Regions from separate parts of the Homo sapiens genome. Here region 1 is linked to region 2. Evidence: promoter capture Hi-C in 16 types of primary human blood cells and fetal thymus (Javierre and others, 2016). All regions are on one chromosome and are shown on one strand. Each heading gives the region's core, a stretch centred on a gene start or on the middle of the fragment in contact. The rest is flanking DNA. Distances are from core to core; before and after follow the strand shown.

Region 1 (4,144 bases), core at 1,471-3,970, 100 kb before region 2:
TTCTCAAATCCTTTTGGCTGCAAAGGCCTTATTTCAGAGCTCATAAAGGTCATGGAGAGCCTAGGGAAGGCCCTAGGTATTGACAGAAAAGGTGGTATCTCTCCAAGAAAGGGGAGATTCACTATTCTGATTCGGTTTCTTCTGAACTTCTATAATTTTTTGTCTAGCTCCCACAGTAGGCTTTGCATAGAGTTGCTCTTGGCTTGAAGATTGTTAAGGCCAGCTCATCACAGAGCCCTGGCAGACTGCTACTTCAATAGCAAAGGAAGCAAAGGACTGTCAACTAGCCATGCCAACAGAAAGAGATGGGGAGGGAAGAGGAGATGAGGGAAGGGGAGAGTGGAGGGAGGAAGAAAGAAGAGAAAGGGAGGGGGGAAAAGAAGAGTAATGAGAAGACTCTATTCACAAGAGCAATAAAATATAATATACCTGGGCATAAACTTAACAAGAATGTGTAGCAGTTATGTGTAGGAAATTGTAAAGCATTACTGAGGTACATAAACAGCTGGATAAATGGAAAAGTGTACCGGAGGGTAGCACTTATTCTAAATATGCAATTCTCTACACATACACTTAATGGCATAACAATCAAAATTCCAAGAGGATTTTTTTTTCAAGTCACTTAATGTCTTGATTTGAAAAAGGCAAGAATAGCTAATATTTTTAAAGAATAATGAAGGGGGACAAGTACTGACAGGCATTACTATAGATTGTAAAGCTATAATAATGTTTAAATTGTTGGGCTAGCCGAGAAATGCCAAATCAGTGGCAGAGAATTACTAACCCTGATGGAGCTGCAAGGGGAAGCTGGGGATGTTCACAGTTTGTCCCCAGCCTCATGGTTCTGTGGCACTTTTTCCTTTCCAAGCTTAAATGCCTTGGATTTTCAGAACATCTTAAGAAGTTAGGCTGGCAACATTAAGCCCATTTATCAGAAGAGGAAACAAAAGCCCATAAAGATGGCATGACTTGTCCAGGGTGACCTGATGAGTTTCTGGCAGAGGTCAGACTCCAGGTCAGGACCCTGGTTCCCAGCCATGGGGCTGTCCTACGGTCTTTATGTGGTTTCACAATGACCTCACAGAAAACCATGACAATGGGCTGTCTGTGAGCTGTGGTTCAGTGTTCCCTCGGGCTGGTAGGGGAGGGTGGGGTGGGAGATGGGAGAACCCTGTCACCTCCTGCCCTGCACAGAGGGGAGCCCAACAAGTCTATGGGCTGGAAAGTTGATTTAATTCAACAAATATTTGTTGATAGGGTGCCCATTACATTCTAGGCACTGGCAGGCCCTCAGCAGCCCCAAAGCCCACTCAGGATCACTCATGCTTTCTTCTCTGTCCCACTCCACTCATACAAGGGGACTTCTCTCCTTTCTCTTGCCCTTGGGCCCCTTACACCCAAGGGGCAATGAGGCCTAATGAAAACACGTTCAATTCAACATAGACAGTCTGGAGTTCTGGTCCTAGCTGTGGCACTGACTGATTATGGGGCTGTGGCTTCACCTCCCTGGGGTGTGGACCTATGGGAAGACATAACACTCTCTTCCCAGCCCAACTCATGTGGCAGCTGTGAGCCTCCACCAGGGGTCAGCAAATTACGGCCTTCAGGCCCAATCGGGCCTACCCTGCTTGCGGACATCCATAAGCTATGCATGGATTCACATTTTTAAATGGCTGGAGGAAAAATCTAAGGAAGGATAATATTTTTTGACATGTGAAAATTATATGAATTTCAAATTTCAGTGTCCAACACTGAAATTTGAAATTCATATAATTTTCACATGTCAAAATGACACAGCCATGCCCAATCATTTAGGCATCATCTATGACTGCTTTTGTGTTACACCAGCAAAGCTGTTGTTCCAGAGACCAAATGCTTGCAAAACCTAAAATATTTACTATCTGGTCTTTACACAAAATGTTTGCTGATCCCTGGTATAGAATATTAAAAGAATGTACTAGAAGTTGCTTTATACGTTGAGAGGCTTATGGGTGAGCTATGCCTAGGCATGGAAACTGGACCAAGGAAGGTCTGACAGGGATTGGAAATCCTGTCTCTCTAAACAGATGGACCTCAAGAGTTGCTGGTCTGGGGGATCTATTGGACTGTCATCTCACAGGGCAGGTGACACTAGGGGCTGCCAATGAGAGAAGAGGGAGAGAGGCAATGCCCATCCAGCCTGCAACGTGGGCAAACCTGCTCTGGTGGCCATGACAGGCAACACAGCCAGCCCACCCTCACCCTCAGATGTCACGCAGCCCACTCTCAGCCTCAGACATCACAACCAGCCCACCCTCATCCTCATACCTGCCCACCCTCATTCTCAGATGTCATCCAGTCCACCCTCACCCTCGGATGTCACAGCCAGCTCGCCCTCATCCTCCAGTGTCACAGCCAGCCCACTCTCATCCTCCAACGTCACCCAGCCCACCCTCAGTCTCAGACATCACAGCCAGCCCACCCTCACCCTCACACACACCCACCCTCATTCTCAGATGTCACCCAGTCCACCCTCACCCTGTGACGTCACAGCCACTCTGACCTTCCAGTGTCACAGCCAGCCCACCCTCACCCTCCAATGTCATCCAGCTCACCCTCAGCCTCAGACATCACCACCAGCCCACCCTCACCCTCATACTCACCCACTCTCATTTTCAGATGTCACCCAGTCCACCCTTACTTTTCGACGTCACAGCCAGTCCACCCTCACCCTCCAATGTCACACCCAGCCCACCTGCACCCTCAGACATAACCCAGCTCACCCTCAGCCTCAGACATCACCCCCAGCCCGCCCTTACCCTCATACCCGCCCACCCTCATTCTCAGTGCACCCCAGTCCACCCTTACTTTTGGATGTCACGGCCAGTACACCTCACCCTTAGGTGTCACCCAGCCCACCCTCACCCTCCACCGTCACAGCCGGCCCACCCCCAGTCTTCTTCCAGGACTACCTCTGTGGCAGACATGGCCTCCCTCAGAGCAACACCCCTCCCTGCCCACTGCCCCCACACTCACGTGATCTCGTTGTTCATGTCAGTAATGTCTATTCTGTCCAGGAACCAGCCTGCTCTGTTGCCTGTGTTGTCGTGGCGAATCCGAATCTTGGTCAGGGCCCCCAGGTCAATGGCATAGATGGTGAAGGTGTCTGTCTGGGAAGGGCCAGGGAACACTCAGTGGGGTAAGACCTACCCCTCCCCACATGGCCATCAGCCCCATCCTCCCAAGAACCAGGGCAGCCAGCCAGAGGCCAATGGTGAGACCCAAAGCAACCAGGAGTGGGGATGATGGAGAATGTCACTTAGTAGTCTGGTGTTTGGTCTGCACAATTGTTTCCCTAACTTGTCCCTGCCAGGAGATCTTCTCACTCTCATGTCCAGGAAGGTGGAAGGAGGAGAGGAAGAGTGAAGGTGACCTTGAGAGGCAGAAGAGAAGATAGGTTTGCTGGATGCCCACATCTGTGGTGGGTGTTTTGTGTGCAAGAGAGGGGGGTGCACTGAAACCCTCTGCAATGTGTGCAGGTGTGTGCATAATCTGCTTCAATCACATATTTGTATTAAGTACCTGCTATGAGCTGGTGCTGTGCAAATCCAAAGTGACTGTCAGAAACTGAAGACGGATTTGCCCACCATTTAGGTGTGAAGAGGGCCATATGGATCACACCATGTGAATGCACACACTGCTCCATGCACGGGAGGAAGCAGACCACACCAGGAACCTATAAGTAAATGGGGCCTTCTTGGATATAACTTTTTTGACTCTTAATTTTGAAAAAGATTTTAAATCTACAGAAAACTTTCAGAAATAGTATGATGAAAGTTCATATGCCTTCATTTAGATTCTGCACTTATTTGTAACATTTGCTTTCTCACTCTGTCATCTCTCTTGCACTCTCTCTCTTGCTGTATGTTTTTCTAAATCATTTGAAAGTAAGTGGCAGATACCATGATTCTTCATCCCTAAATTCTTCAACATGGATTTCCCAAGAACAAGGATATTCTCATATAATCACACTAGAATGATCCAATTCAGAAAACTTAACATCAACATAATGCTATTATATAATATACAGTCCATGTTCAAATTTTACCAGTTGCACAAGTTATGTAGTCCTCTATAGAAATTTTTTCCTAATCCAGAAATATGT
Region 2 (4,273 bases), core at 194-2,693:
CCACCCTCACGGAGTTTAGGGTGACTGTGGCTGCAAGCCGGACACAGCTGGACAAGCTTTGCAGGAAACAATGGAACAATTATGAATTGGATGTAATCAGGGAACTCATGGTGGACTGGAATCAAGGAGGGCTTCATGGAAGAGATGGGATCAGAACTGGGCTTTCAGAGTGAGGACAGGAAGAGGGAGAAAGGGGAAGACAAACAAGGCCATGGGCAGGCACAGAGCACACATTCAATAAATACTTGCTGAATGAATGAATGAGTGAATGCATGGATGACTATGGCGCTTACGGGGACTGGTGAGCCACTTTGGAGTCAGCATTGAGAATTTAAATGGCTTCAGAGACTAGGCAGGCAGCACTGATGAGTAAACCAGACCTAGTATGAGATGACAGGGAGTGGTGGAGACTGTGATAAGCTGGACGTCCACAGCCTATTGGCATTCACAGAAAAAAGGATTTCAAAACGCTGGAAAGGAAAAAAACAACTTAAACTCTGCTGGCCAAAACCAGCTCTAGGGTCACAGTTCACTTCTTTGGTTTACCTGGCAAGGAGTTAGAGCAATTTCAAGCAGGTCTCATGTGGCCCAGGGAAAGATGAGACTAGAAGGACAAGGCCCTGGGGTCCAGAGCACCGGCCGCCTTCGACATATGGGATGGACATCTCCTTGCAAAGCCCCAGGCTCCCTGTCTCCATCAACCACAGTGGGCATAGGATGAGCTGTCAGGCTTCCTCCCCAAGACATCCTTTCATGACCCCAGCAGTTCAGGGCGCTCTGCCTGATGCAGACCACCTACTCGGGGACCAGACTGGAACGTGGCTTTGGGGATGTTCAGGAGCTGGAGAACATGGGGCCATGGGGGCACTGTGGCTCTAGTCTATTCTGTTCCACTGAGAATCGGGGGCTAAAGGCAAGTTGCTCCACCTGTCTGTACAACAGGGACCCCACCATCCCTGCATAATGCCTGCCTTCTTACTCCGAGGGGATATGGAACAGACACATGGGATAATCAGTGAGGAAGGGCTTGCTCCGAAATCTTAGAATGACTCCCCATAGACAGGAACAGACCCCTGCCCACCGCAGCCAGCTGCACCACCCGCCCCCCGCAGGCTGGGACCCCGCACCTCTGGCCTTGTAGTACTCGTGTTCCAGCTCCCCCTCGTCGTCCTCCGAGGCGTAGTTCAGCAGCTCCGCTTCGTACAGGGCCAGGAAGTCGATGTCCTTCTTCCTCCGCCTTTTCTTCTGGGGCATCATTCTGTCGGCTGCCTTCTCCCAGCGCTCGCAGGCTCACTGTGCCGCCTCCTCACACCTGCGGGAACCTGAGACCTCCTCCCTGAGCTCTGGCGCCCACGGCCCTCCTATAGCTCAGGCCTGGGTGGGCCAGAGTGCCCCGTTTTCTTGGCTTCCCCGTGCCCAAGGTGCTGTTCCCTCTGCCTTCTCTGGCTCCTGAGCTGAACCTCAGTGCCTTATCTCTGAACCTCCTGTCCCTGTCCCCTCCCACCACCCTCTGGTGAGCCACCTCCTCCTCCTCTGTACCTGCCCCGGGGCTTCTCTTTGGGCCTCATCACTTATTCATGGCGCTGAGGGCAGGCTGACTTCCTTCCTCTCTCCCCTCCCCACCAGCCCTCTCTCCTCCCTATGGAGAATCAGGTGACACGGAGCCCTTGAAGTCCATTTCCCACCTGGCCTCACAGCCAGGGGGTCACCTGGGATCCCTCCAGGCCACCCCAGGGACAGGTGAGGGCTCCTCACCCAGGAGATCTCCCAAGCCTTACAGCCCACACGGGACCCTCCTGAGGAAGGCGGGGCCCCGGAATCAGCCAGGCTCCCAGGACTCAAAGGCCCCCGTTTCTCTCCATTATTCATGACCTCTGATCGTCTTACGGAGCAGGCGGGGTTCTCGCTGGATCCTTCTCGTTCTCTCTCTCTGCTTCCATCTCATCAAGACTGCGGGCTTCCGGAAGTGGCCTCTGGGCACGAGGAAAGCTAGGGCACCAGAAAACTCTCCCCGCTCCCCCTGCCAGGTGAGCTTTATATGCACTAAAGTTTAAACATCATCGTAGCCGATGCCCTCCCAGGTGAACTCACTAACTAGATCAGCTCACCACCTGGACTCACGGGAGGGCATCAGCAAGCTCCTACCCCAGGGCGCACAGCCCGGGCTGCACACCAGAAGCCCCCAGAGAGGTGTTGAACGCTAATGCGTGGGTCCCATCCCCAAGGATTCTGATTTGCTTGGTTTGGGACGCAGCTTGGGCCCCAGTTTTTAAAGCTCCTGGTGACTTTCATGTGCAGCCATGTTGAGGGTCCCTGAATCGCTTCTCAGGTAACTTAGGTGTGCTAACAGGAGTCCTCTAGAAGCAACACGTGTGATTTTGTCCTCTAAGCCAAAATAGTGACTCTAAAGGGGAATTTCAGGTGGAGAGGAAGAGAGGATTTGGAGCGGACGCCTGAGGAGCAGTCGGCACTCACAGGCCTCCCCGGCAGCCTGGGGCAGCTTTGGTCCTGCCCTGCTCTTTGGAGCCATCCAAATCTTCCACTAGGGGGAGGCATCTCTAACCCCGAACGTTCCTACCCAGGAAAGATCAACCTCCCCTCTTCCCCTATTCAGCTGAGGGGCCGCCCTTGAAGCAGCTCAAAGTCCTCTGAGGACCAGGAGTGAAGTTTAATGGTGGGTGGCGCGCGCCCCCTTCTGGCAATATGTGGTTTACACACCTGGATTCTTCAGGAAGAGACCTTCCTTAAGGATCTCTAGGAATCTACTAAGAAAACTCATTTTACACGAGTACCCATTCAGGGAAAAGATAATAAAACGTTTCTTAGAATTTTTTTTGAGACGGAGTCTCCCTCTGTCGCCCAGGCTGGAGTGCAGTGGTGTGATCTCGGCTCACTGCAACCTCCGCCTCCCGGGTTCAAGTGATTCTCCTGCCTCAGCCTCCCGAGTAGCTGGGATTACAGGCATACGCCACCATGCCCAGCTAATTTTTGTATTTTTAGTAGAGACAGGGTTTCACCATGTTAGTCAGGCTGGTCTCGAACTCCTGACCTCGAGATCTGCCCACCTCGGTCTCACAAAGTGCTGGGATTACAGGCGTGAGCCACCGCGCCCGGCTGTTTCTTAGAACTTTAAAAGCTGAAATCAAAATATTTTTAGAGAATCCCATGGTACTGGAACACACTGGCTAGGAGGTCAGGGAAATAATTCTATATTATTTCTGTATTATTTCAAGGTTCTCCAGACAGACAGAACCACTAGGATATACAGATCAGTAGATATATGACAGGAGGCTTACTAGGGGCGTTGACTCATGGGATTATGGATGCCGAGAAGTCCCACAACAGGCAGTCTGCACGTTGGAGACGTAGGAAGGCTGGTAGTGTGGTGGGTCCAAGTCTGAAGGCCTGGGAACCTGGGAAACCCGTGGTGTAATTCTCAGTCTCAGGCCCAAAACCTGAGAACCTGGTGGTGAGCGGGTGATGGAGCAAGTCCCAGAGTCCAAAGACTGGAGAACCTAGAGTTCTGATGCCCAAGGACAGGAGAAGAAGGGTGTCCCAGCTCCAGGAGAGAGATAAAACATTCACCTTTCCTTTGCCTCTTTGTTCTGTCGGGGCCCCCAGCCGATTGCATGGTGCCCACCCACATTGAGGGCACAACCAGTCATGTTGACACCAAAAATTAACCCTCACAAATACCAAGAGTTCATAGGGACATGAGCAGCCAGAACTCTCATACTGCTAGTTGGAGTGTAAAATGGTGCAGCCACTTTGGAAAATAAAGCAAAGCAAATACTTCCCATGCAACCCAGAAATTCCACTCCTTGGTATTTACCTAAGATAAATGAAAAAGGATATCCACACAAGATCTGTATGTAAATATTCATAGAAGCTTTATTCATAACCAAAAACTGGACACAACTCAGGCATTCATCACCTGGCCAGTGGGTAAACAAACTGAGGTACATCTGTACAGGCAATAATACTCAACAATAGAAAGGAAGGGAGTCGGGAAACATGCTACAACATGGATGCCTCTGGAAAGCACTACGCTAAGTGCAGAAAAGCGGTCAGAAAAAATACATGCTGTGTGATTACATTGATGTAACATTCTCTAAAAGGTAAAACTATAGGATCAGAAAACAGGCCTGATGGGTGCAGTGGCTCACACCTGTGATCTCAGCACTTTGGAAAGCCAAGATAGGAGGATCGCTTGAGCCCAGGAGTTTGGGACTAGCAGTAACATAGGGAGATCCAGTCTCTACAAAAAATTTAA

The links. The method cuts DNA at HindIII sites, captures the fragments that hold promoters and counts their contacts. A CHiCAGO score of 5 or more calls a contact.
Region 1: a contact is called between a fragment that was not itself captured here and the fragment with the promoter of LOXHD1 in region 2, in 2 of 17 cell types (megakaryocytes and M2 macrophages). The highest score is 6.5, in megakaryocytes.

Annotation. Positions count from the first base shown.
Region 1 is chr18:46,554,341-46,558,484 of GRCh38, forward strand. It overlaps LOXHD1 (lipoxygenase homology PLAT domains 1), which reads right to left. Exons shown (of 41, transcript NM_001384474.1): 21 at 3,016-3,149. Among named protein-coding and RNA genes, the nearest start is that of LOXHD1, 100 kb to the right of the region's middle. The HindIII fragment of the contact is 3,708 bases long and covers 867-4,144 here.
Region 2 is chr18:46,655,777-46,660,049 of GRCh38, forward strand. LOXHD1 (lipoxygenase homology PLAT domains 1) reads right to left here and starts at 1,444. Exons shown (of 41, transcript NM_001384474.1): 1 at 1,128-1,444. The coding sequence starts at 1,257. RefSeq lists enhancers at 1,692-2,641, 2,452-2,501. The HindIII fragment of the contact is 3,833 bases long and covers 55-3,887 here.